3 separate regions of the Homo sapiens genome follow, and regions 1 and 3 are each linked to region 2. The links are contacts of gene promoters, found by promoter capture Hi-C in human tissues and cell types (Jung and others, 2019). All regions are on one chromosome and are shown on one strand. The core of a region is centred on a gene start or on the middle of the fragment in contact, and the rest is flanking DNA. Distances in the headings are between cores, read along the strand shown. Region 1 overlaps HEBP2 (heme binding protein 2). Region 2 holds the start of HECA (hdc homolog, cell cycle regulator). Region 3 has its middle 51 kb from the start of LINC02941.

Region 1 (3,103 bases), core at 599-3,098, 720 kb before region 2:
GGGGCTCTCAGGATAGAGGATTTCACACCATGAGAAAAATGCCAGGAGATAATACAGACTCACTGCTCTAGGGCAGCTTGGTAGAAGCCTAGAAAGAGTGATCAAAATGTTGAAATGCCTGAATGGCTGGGACAAACAATAGAGAAAGGAATGAGAAGGCTCAGGGAAGGGAGCATGCCAGCATGGATATATGAGGCAAGGTGACCCATCAGACAATTATGTTCCACGGGAAGGCCCAGGGGACCCATCCTTCAGCAAGGCTGCTGGGAATGCACTGATAAGCGGGCTTGGGCATCATAAAGGAGCTCAGCGGTGGCTCTCCTCGGCAGGCTGGGGCTGGCAGGAAGGGCTGTGATGGAACTTCACTTGCTGAGAGCAATGTGGATGATGATGAGACCTTGAAGAGCCCAGGTGGCAGTGCCAGCCACAGAAGCCAGGGTGCCATCAGTATCCTGTTAACCACTAAGCTCCAAATGGCAGCCGAGGGGTCCTGACCTGTAAAGTCTCATGGAAATAGTTGGTAGAACAAGGCATTCCTAGGGACAAAAGAGCTGACTAATCAACAAGGGTAAGGCTTTATATATAATCAAAAGTGAGCAAGAATTGATGAGCAGGGGACTGAGAGAGATCACTCCAATTAAAAAACAAAAACATGATTCCTTGCCAGTTTCTAGTTCAGTTTTCTGACCTAGAGCTCATTAATTGCAGAGGTGACTGTATCCTAGGGGAAAGTTTCCTGCAACATTTCAGCAGGTGTACACAGTAATGATCCCCTCATTCTTTTTCTAAAGGATCTATGGCCATTTACTCAGGTGGCTCTACCCTGGGGAAAGAGGAATACCTGGATACGTCAGGGTCCAAGTTAACGTCTGATACCCAGAAACCCAAAGAGTCATTACAGTTCCTCCTCCTCCCATTAAAATGGGAGCATACAGAGGTTAGAAAGTAAACGTAGTTCTAATCAAAGTTTGGCTTACAGCAGATCTCCTGGGCCTGCAGGTTATCTGCCTAATCCCTGAATGTATAATTGAGACTGACATCCTTGGCAGGCAGAATAACCCCTACATTTGTTCCTTGACCTGTGGGGAAAGAGTATAAGCTTCTAAACTCCCTCTCCTCCAATCAGGGCAGTAAACCATAATAAATATTGCCTTGAACAGTATTTTTTAAGCACCTCGGGTGAACATCTGCTTCTGGCCATGATGATGAATTGGGAACCCAATTTACCTGTCCCTCTTAAACAACTAAAAGCCCAGACAAAATATATGAAACAATGGTTTTCAGACACTGAAAGTTCATAGTACAGGACTGTGATCTCTGCGAGAAGGGGGAATAATGAGGTGAGTCCAGTGATTGCTCAGGCGAATGGCCTGGAGGCAGTTTCTAGGCAGCAAAGCAGGGAGAGGGAAGCCAGAGACCAGTGGTCCTGCTGTGTTGAGGAGATGGAGATCAGTGTCACCGGAGGCCAAGGTGAGTAAGTGAGAGGAGAGGAGGCAGCAGCACACAGACAGAGAGTGCTGTAGATCTGCAGTGGGTCCCCTGGAGTCCTTGGTTGAGTGAAGGTGTTAGAAGAAACTACTTAAGCCAAGAAATGAGTAACTGGAAATTAGTAGAGCAAATAATTTACAGATCATCTATGGGGCTGGGAAAAGTTTGTGTTTCCACTAGCCAGAGTAGAAATAACTCATAATGCATGGGTCATCAGGTGGAGTCCTCCAACAGGTGTTGCCTTAGTACTGAGGTCAAATTGTCCCTAGACCAAAGGCTTCTTTGGACTTCCCCTAACAAAGCTTAAAGACAAGCCTTGGAAGGATCAAACTAATTTCAAGAAACTTAACTGTGAATCAGAATAAAACCCAATACCATTTATAGGAATATAACAAAATCCATCAACAAACAACATAACACTCATAATTACCAACATTCAGTAAAAAATTACTGGAAACAGAGAAATATAAATTATGGCCCATAATTAGGAAAAAAGGGTAATCATTAGAAGTAGAACCAGAAGTGACAGATATGAAGAAATTAGCAGCTTGAATTATGTGATGTGGCAGATCTTATGTATTGGAGGTAGGGGGAAAGAAGATGCAGTGTGGAATAGATGACAAGGCCCAATGAGAGAATCACAGTGCAGGTCCCTGGGGCCCTGAAGGAAGGTGGTTCTAACCACAGGAGAGGATCATATGCTTTTTGAAAAACAGCCTCTGCTGTGCTACTGGGCCCTGGTAGACACGGAACTTTGAGACCCAGTGATGCTGTATCCAGAACTGCTCATCTTAACTAGGTCCTGTGGGAAGCACTAAGTCATAAGCTAGTAGGATCGGCAGCAGCCCATTGGAAGATGGAAATGATATGTACAGGAGCAGTTCCAAGCCAGACCAGAGGACATAAGCAAACTGCAAGAGCAATTACTCCAACCGCCATGTCTGCACAGTGGCACCTACATCCCCCCTCCCTGTGGTTGTTGGAGGACCTGTATGATCCACTGAAGGAAGAGGAATGCTTGGGCTTGGTTTATTGATTAGTTATCTTCTGTAGTTGCAAGCTGAAAATGGACCTTCACTCAAAGGTGACATTGAAAAACGGGAAAAAAATTGCAATCTTCCTGCAAAAACTGGGCAGAATTTTTTGAGGTACACTGGATCATTCACCTTGTGAGGGAGGACAGGTAAAATATTTATGGAAGTGGCAGAAAATGGCCTGCCAGCTGATCAGGAGTTTGGGAGGAAAAAAACATGGATTAGGAGGTCTGGGGTAGAGGCATGTGGATGGGCATATGGAGTGAACACAGAAGTTGAAAAACTGTATCACATGTTAATGCCCACTAGATAGCACCCACCAGAGAAGAGGCACTAAACAACCAAGTAGATGAAATGACTTAGCCTGTTCTATTAGCTTTTGCCAGTGCCCACCTCAGTGCTGGTAAAATGCACACATAAAGTGGCAGTGGTGGCAAAGATGGAGGCTATGGATGGAACCCACCAACATGGGCTCCCACTTACCAAGGCCAACTTAGACACTGCTCACTGTGACTATCCAACCTGCCTGCAACAAATACCAATGCTGAGACCCTGATGAGGCTGTGAAGACCAACTGGTCG
Region 2 (3,362 bases), core at 329-2,828:
CAGAAGATTCTGCATCCGGAACCTTGAGCCACCGCTGGGGCCGCTTCCATACTGTGGAGTGTACTTTCATTCTCAATAAATCCCTGCTTTCTTCTTTCCTTGCTTTGCTGGGCGTTTGGTCCAATTGTTTGTTCAAAATGCCAAGAACTTGGACGACTTGCAGTCAAGACCCTCTAATGGTAACAACAACACCGTGACAGAGCTTTTACTAAAGGGCTGAATTAAAGATTACACTATAAAAGGGGAACACTGTAAAGCTGTCAGCTAAACTAGTCTTTCCTCCACAGTTCGTGAGGAAGGAACCTAATTTATACATTCAACAAATTTATGCCAGCTGTTCTCTGATGTGCCCAAGGCAGATAAAATCTATCCATGGAGGTTTCATTTCAGTGAGAGGGAGATATACAAGAAATAAGTAAACACCTACATTGCCAACATAATTAGAGATGGAGGAGGAAAATAACAGGGTGGAACTTCTGACAGCTCTCCTGGGAAGGTCTCTGTGGAAGTGATGTATTTGAGCTGAGACCTGAAGGAAGGGAAGGAGTTGGCCGAAAAGGTAGAATAGAATTGCAGAAAGAGATCAAGGGGAGCTCTTCCCAGGGGTCCCCTGCCCTCATATTGCCTGTCTTCACTGGTGTCACCTAATCTCCTACTGCTCATAACCTGGCTACCTATCTTTCACTATCTTTCAGGACAACTCAGCCCTATGCATAGGGATGGGTTCCCCCCAAGCAGGGACTGCTTCAGAGTCCAGGCAACATCTAGTTACATCCCTGGATGATGGGTCTTGTTTGAGTGAATTGTTTTCACCACCAGACTGTGAAGGCTTCCCATTCAGGACCCTGGTGTTCATCCCCATTGTCTGGGAACTCTACCCTGTTTCTTTCTTTCTTTTCTTTTTTTTTTTTTTTTTTTGAGACAGAGTCTCGCTCTGTTGCTCAAGCTGGAGTGCAGTGGCGCGATCTCGGATCCCAGGTTCAAGTGATTCTCCTGCCTCAGCTTCCCGAGTTTCTGGGACTACAGGCGCACGCCACCACGCCCAGCTAATTTTTTTTTGTATTTTTAGTAGAGACAGGGTTTCACCACGTTGGCCAGGATGGTCTCGATCTCTTGACCTCGTGATACACCCGCCTCGGCCTCCCAAAGTGCTGGGATTACAGGCATAAGCCACCGCGCCCGGTCCCCTGTTTCTTTAATTACTGTTACTGAAAGGCATAGCCTTTGAATGAGTTATTAATCCAAAATCTTTTGTTTTCCATTCTTGCTCTAGTCACAGCTTATTTTTCCAGACCATACTGTTCTAAGCCTCAATTACATTAAGGCCAGGAGGCCACCGAAGAACTCCACATGCCACTGCACTGGCGGGTGGAGCAAGTCAAGCAGGGCAGCTCATGAACGCCCGGGAGTCCAGGAGGCCCGGGTGGGGACGCCTGGATGACGTCACTCGAGGTGGGCAGGCCCCGCGCGGGGCGTGACGTCACGCGGGCGGTCCCGTCAGCCGTGAGGTCACCTGGTGGGCGCGGCCAGGCCGAATCCCCAGTGTCGTCACGGGAGGGGGCGGGCCCAGAGCGTGTCAGTGCAGCCGAATCAAAACAAGCCGGAGACCCGCCTTTTCCCTCCGGCTCGGGAGCGTCTCGCTTGCGCCCCGGGCCCGCGGCGCCCGCGCGGCTGCGAGCCTCGGGTGGCCGCGTGCCGGCTCCAGGAAGCCGGAGAGGGCGCGGCGGCCAGGATGGCGCGGCACGGGCCGTGCGGCTAGACGGGAGCCGAGGGAACCGCCGGCTCGCGCCCTCCGTTCTTTCCCGGAGCCGGCTTCACGCAGGGCCGGGAACGGCCGTGCCTCTGGGATCCGCCTTCGCTGACGCCGGGCACCTACCTGGACGCGAGCGAGCGAGATGCCCAACCCCAAAAACAGCAAAGGCGGCCGCAAAAACAAGCGCGCCAACAGCAGCGGCGACGAGCAGGAAAATGGAGCCGGGGCCCTGGCAGCGGCGGGCGCGGCGGGAGCGGCGGCCGGGGGGGCCCTGGCGGCGGCGGCCGGTTGCGGGGCGGCGGCGGCGGGCGCGCCGGGCGCCGGAGGCGCGGCGGGCGCCGGAGGCGCGGGGACTGGCGCCGCGAACGCTGCGGCCGCCGCGGGGGCTGCGGCCGCGGGCGATGCCAAAAACGGTAAGACGGGGCTGGCGGGGCGAGCGCCAACTTCCTCCCCGACGGGGACGGCGCGGTGGCGGGGCCCTGGGTGGCGCGGGCGGTGCGTGGACAATGCGAGAGTCAGGAAGTGCTCACCCCGCCCCTCCGCCCCGCCGCGGCTGCCCCTTCGCGGTCCCCACGCCTGGCGGCGGGGACAGATCTGCGGCCCCTGCCCGGTGTCCGCGCGGGGGGCAGCCCGCGCCCCACACTCTGAGGGGCTCCCGGCTGCGGCAGCGCTGCCCTCGGGCCCAGCCTGCTGCCCGCGCTGGCACTGCCCCGCCGTGTGTGCCGGGCCGAAGGGAGGAAGGAAGGGAGGAAAGAGCCGCCCAAGTTGAGAAGAATGATCCGATTGAAAACTTAGGCACCGGTTAATTCTTCCCGGTGCTCCAAGGCCACCCGTAACCCCCGGAATGAAGGAGAGAGAGCCTCAATTCTTAGCACACCCAGGCTTGCTGCGTCGATCGCCACAGGTGAAGAGGCCTCGAGACATTTAGGGCCTCTGTGTTTGCTCTTTAATTTTTTGGCTTGCTTGAGGAAGGAAGAGAATCTGAACTTGACTTCCGTTCTCAGCCCGGAGTTAAAAAAAAAAAAAAAAAAAGAAAAGAAAGAAAAGAAAAATCATTCTCTATGTCATTGTGCTTAACATTTTCAGAAGGAAGCCTCATAATCTTAGGTAGTGCCTGAATGTTCCTTTTGAGGGGACACTTAGGAACTGGCCCAGATGTGACAGGATTTCTGTTCTCATTACAGAGCCATGGTTTTCGTTATAAGGTGCTGGGCAAACACTTACTTATTTGGACAGTTCTTTGAATTCCTCTAGTCAGGCACTTTTTCCAGGAAGACAACGTAGGTATTTTAATGAAGGGAGATTTGAATTGTTATATCTGGCTTTTAATTTATAGCGTCAGCTTTTGAAGCCATTCTTTATGTAGATCAGGCACTTTTTTGTTTTGTTTTTTTTTTTTTAGACGGAGTTTGCAATTTCGCCCAGGCTGGAGCGTAGTGGCGCAATCTCGGCTCACTGCAACCACCGTCTTCCGGTCTGAAGCGATTCTCCTGCCTCAGCCTCCCGAGTAGCTGGGATTACAGGCGCCCGCCACCACGCCCGGCTAATTTTTGTTATTTTTAGTAGAGACAGGGTTTCACCATATTGGTCAGGCTGGTCTCGAACTCCT
Region 3 (3,589 bases), core at 788-3,287, 790 kb after region 2:
AACTCCACAGCTATCCTGGCTCCTACAATGTGACTGAGTGAGGTTAAGGTCCTACTCCCATAGGGAAATAAGTTTCTATCCTTGGGGATTCTGAACAACTAGACCCCTAGGAACTTAAAAATCAGGTGCATTCATTAGTATCTTTCTAACATGGGAAAAATACAGCCATCAGCCATTAAAACACAATCCAGTTTGGATACAGGTACTATTCAGGTTTTCTAAGTTTTCTAGCTGAATACCAAGACTGGGCTACCATCTTTTGTAGCAACCCAGCCTGCAGCCACTGCTATCTCCCTAACTAGCAGTCTCCCAAGCTGCACTAAAACTGGGATTAACAAAGCTGAAGATAAAGCTTTTTTGACCTTTCCTCCTGGAAGTTAGAGGGCTCTTTGGGTAGGAAGGGACAGGAAGTTTTGCATCAAGCTTGCCTTCACATTCACTATTGTGCAAAAATCTACCTATCGCACACCTGTATTGAGTGTTTGAGTGTACTTACTCATCACCATAAAAGAAAGTTAGAGTAAATTAAGAAGTCTCTCTGGACGAAGCCACTCAAAACAGGCAAATTTGGTGAACCAAGGCAATTCGCTGCCTGTGGTAATAGCTTCAGTTCACCTAAGTCATTTCCTGAAGAATCATATTAAGCTCATGATTCAGGAGGCACCTCTGGCCAGCACAGAGCAGAGAAGAAAAACATAACTTCAGTTTAGGGTGAATTATATATTATTATCACTTTTAGCCAGCTGTAAGTAGCAAAATGCTGCTTAAATTACTTTTTCAAATTTAAATATTTTGTTTGCATACATCAGTCTCTTGATCCAGCTGTATTCCTTCTAACCATTTTCCTACTAACAAAGGTCTGTGAGAGGTTTTGGGGTGATGTTTATCAATTCAGAAACAAGCTTTTATTGAGCACTTACTCTGTGCCAGTCTCTTGGCCGAGGACCAGATTGAACAGTGGTGAACAAGACAGACAAGTCTCGGCTTAAGGCAGCTTACTGTGTAGCACGGAAGACTGACATTAAGCCAACACAGAAATAAATATATAACTACAGATTTCATTGCATCATGTGCAAAAAACACCCATGAAGCCAGAAGACTGAGTGTGATTTAGCTGGAGGGAAAAGTCAAGAAGAGCCAGACCAACAGAAGAACTCTTTGTGTCGGCCTACAGCAGAAAGGAGTTTAGACGCTTGAGGGAAGAGGAAAAAGAGAGTTGGGGCAGGGAAGAGGTTGCAACTGGATGTACTTTGACATCAATTTTTAAAAACCCTAAACCAATCAAGCATTGTAAAAGTCCATACCTCATCTCACCAAAAATCTATTACTCTGAAATCTACTATTGTTTTTCTTCTGAAATATATTACTGCCATCTCCCTCCTCCCTCCCTCCCTCCCTCCCTCCCTCCCTCTCTCCCTCTCTTTCTCTCTTTCTTTCTCACTTTCTTTTCTTCCTTCCTTCCTTTCTTCCTTCCTTCCTTTCTTCCTTTCTTCCTTTCTTCCTTTCTTCCTTTCTTTCTTTCTTTCTTTCTCTCTTTCTCTCTTTCTCTCTTTCTCTCTTTCTCTCTTTCTTTCTTTCCTTTCTTTCTTTCTTTCTGACAGAGTCTCACTCTGTCACCCAGGCTGGAGTGCATGGCACAATCTCGGCTCACAGCAACCTCTGCCTCCTGGGTTCAAGCAATTCTCTGCCTCAGTAGCTGGGATTACAGGCAACCACCACCATGCCCGGCTATTTTTTTATTTTTATTTTTAGTAGAGACAGGGTTTCACCATCTTAGCCAGGCTGGTCTTGAACTCCTGACCTCATGATCCACCTGTCTTGGCCTTCCAAAGTGCTGGTATTACAGGCATGAGCCACCGCGCCCAACCTCTTTTCTTTTTTGAATAACTGTACCTACCTTTTTTCTTATCTGTGTTTCCAAATTATGGCTCTTACCTCATATGAGGTCTTATATCTCTCTCTTTTTTTTTTTTTTTTTTTTTTGAGACAGACTCTCGCTCTGTCGCCCAGGCAGTAGTGCAGTGACGCAACCTCGGCTCAGTGCAATCTTCATCTCCCGGATTCAAGTGATTCTCCTGCCTCAGCCTCCTGAGTAGCTGGGATTATAGGCATGCGCCACCTCACCCAGCTAATTTTTGTATTTATAGTAGAGACGAGGTTTCCCCATGTTGACCAGACTGGTCTCGAACTCCTGACCTCAAGTGATCCACCCGCCTCGGCCTCCCAAAGTGCTGGGATTACAGGCATGAGTCACTGCGCCCGGCCAAGGTCTTATATCTCTTTATTTTTTTCTTTTTCTCTATAATTTCCTACATGTTAATAACTCCTCTCATCACTGTGAAGCCTGCAATGTCCTTCATGTTCCCATCCAGTGAGGAGTCCAGTTTCCTTTTGACTATATCATGCTTTAGGAGGGATGCCCTTGAATGTTTTTTGAATGCGTTTGTCCTTAAATCACTGTTGACTATAAATATATATTTATATATATACACACACAAATAGCCAAAGGAAGATATCGTTTAAGTCTGAGACCAAAACTAGGCAAGGTTTTCTGTCTTTATTTTGTATTTTTGTACGCATTACAGTGTTAGACAGCTTTTAATTAGCCTCGCTGAGTAAAACTGCTGCTGATGGATTTTTCTTTGTGGGTGGGGGTGGATGCTCAGTTTTCTACCCTGATTACTAATTATTATTGTCTTTGCCTTTCAAATCAAATCATAGTTTTGAAATCACAGAGCTCGATTTAACTGCAGCCTGATGACTCTATAATAATTTTGAGGAATATTGTGCAAGATTCTACTTTCCCTGATTTCTATTTGTTATGAGCTCATATTTATGAATGGAAGTGTGCAGTCCAGTCTGATCTATGGCTTGTTACAAATGTGGAATATGTATGCGTTGCTGTTTCTGCCTTCTTTGCAACACACCACCACCGTGATTCATGTGTAAACAGGAGGCCGCTTCTCCTCAGTCCTTCCCTTCCATCTTGTCCATGTGCTTCACAATTACAGCCAGTTGAGGAGGCGAAGTACACAGAGGCCACTGAGTTATTTTACATGCTGTGGGCTGCCAGCACATTGTGAATCCCTAGGGATCCCCGAAGCCCATTACCAACCCAGTGAATCACTCTGTTTGCTTTTCCGCAAAAAAGAAATGTGCAGCTGCGTACTTCTGCCACGGACTTTGGAATTTTGTTCCCTCTTCCATCTGCGTTTTGTGTAAAGAAATTCTGCCGGAATAATTACTTGTCTGTCCCCTTTGCTCATTCCCAACATAATCATTCTTCAACCTTCTGTTTCCAATTAGTTCTTATCTCAAATGGCTTATTGGCATCAATCTGTTCTCAGCATCACCAAAGTGCACAAAACTACCCTGAAACATAGGGGAATCTAGATAAGGCTGAGGCTCACCCATCAATCCAGTGGAGTCTCCTCATTTCACCCCAGTGCCTTCCTTTTCTCAGGAAACCTGAGACAGGAGATGGTGTTGAGACAGGCTGTTGATATAGCACATTTTGGAGCAAAATGACATCCATGAATATTGCAGGTACTGTGCAAGGTCTGCGAACATAGCCATTGTTGGACATCTG

What was found. Contacts are between HindIII fragments. The study calls those that stand out against the background at their distance.
Region 1: a fragment that was not itself captured here is called in contact with the fragment with the promoter of HECA in region 2 in 1 of the 25 tissues and cell types used here (spleen).
Region 3: a contact is called between a fragment that was not itself captured here and the fragment with the promoter of HECA in region 2, in 1 of the 25 tissues and cell types used here (spleen).

What each region holds. Positions count from the first base shown.
Region 1 is chr6:138,416,201-138,419,303 of GRCh38, forward strand. HEBP2 (heme binding protein 2) reads left to right here. Exons shown (of 4, transcript NM_014320.3): 4 at 1-3,103. Among named protein-coding and RNA genes, the nearest start is that of HEBP2, 14 kb to the left of the region's middle. The HindIII fragment of the contact is 5,598 bases long and covers 1-3,103 here.
Region 2 is chr6:139,133,502-139,136,863 of GRCh38, forward strand. HECA (hdc homolog, cell cycle regulator) reads left to right here and starts at 1,579. Exons shown (of 4, transcript NM_016217.3): 1 at 1,579-2,166. The coding sequence starts at 1,896. RefSeq lists enhancers at 43-92, 1,371-1,665, 2,531-2,650 and silencers at 1,371-1,560, 1,671-1,750, 2,151-2,420. The HindIII fragment of the contact is 7,882 bases long and covers 1-3,362 here.
Region 3 is chr6:139,923,171-139,926,759 of GRCh38, forward strand. No RefSeq gene overlaps it. Among named protein-coding and RNA genes, the nearest start is that of LINC02941, 51 kb to the right of the region's middle. The HindIII fragment of the contact is 4,135 bases long and covers 1-3,589 here.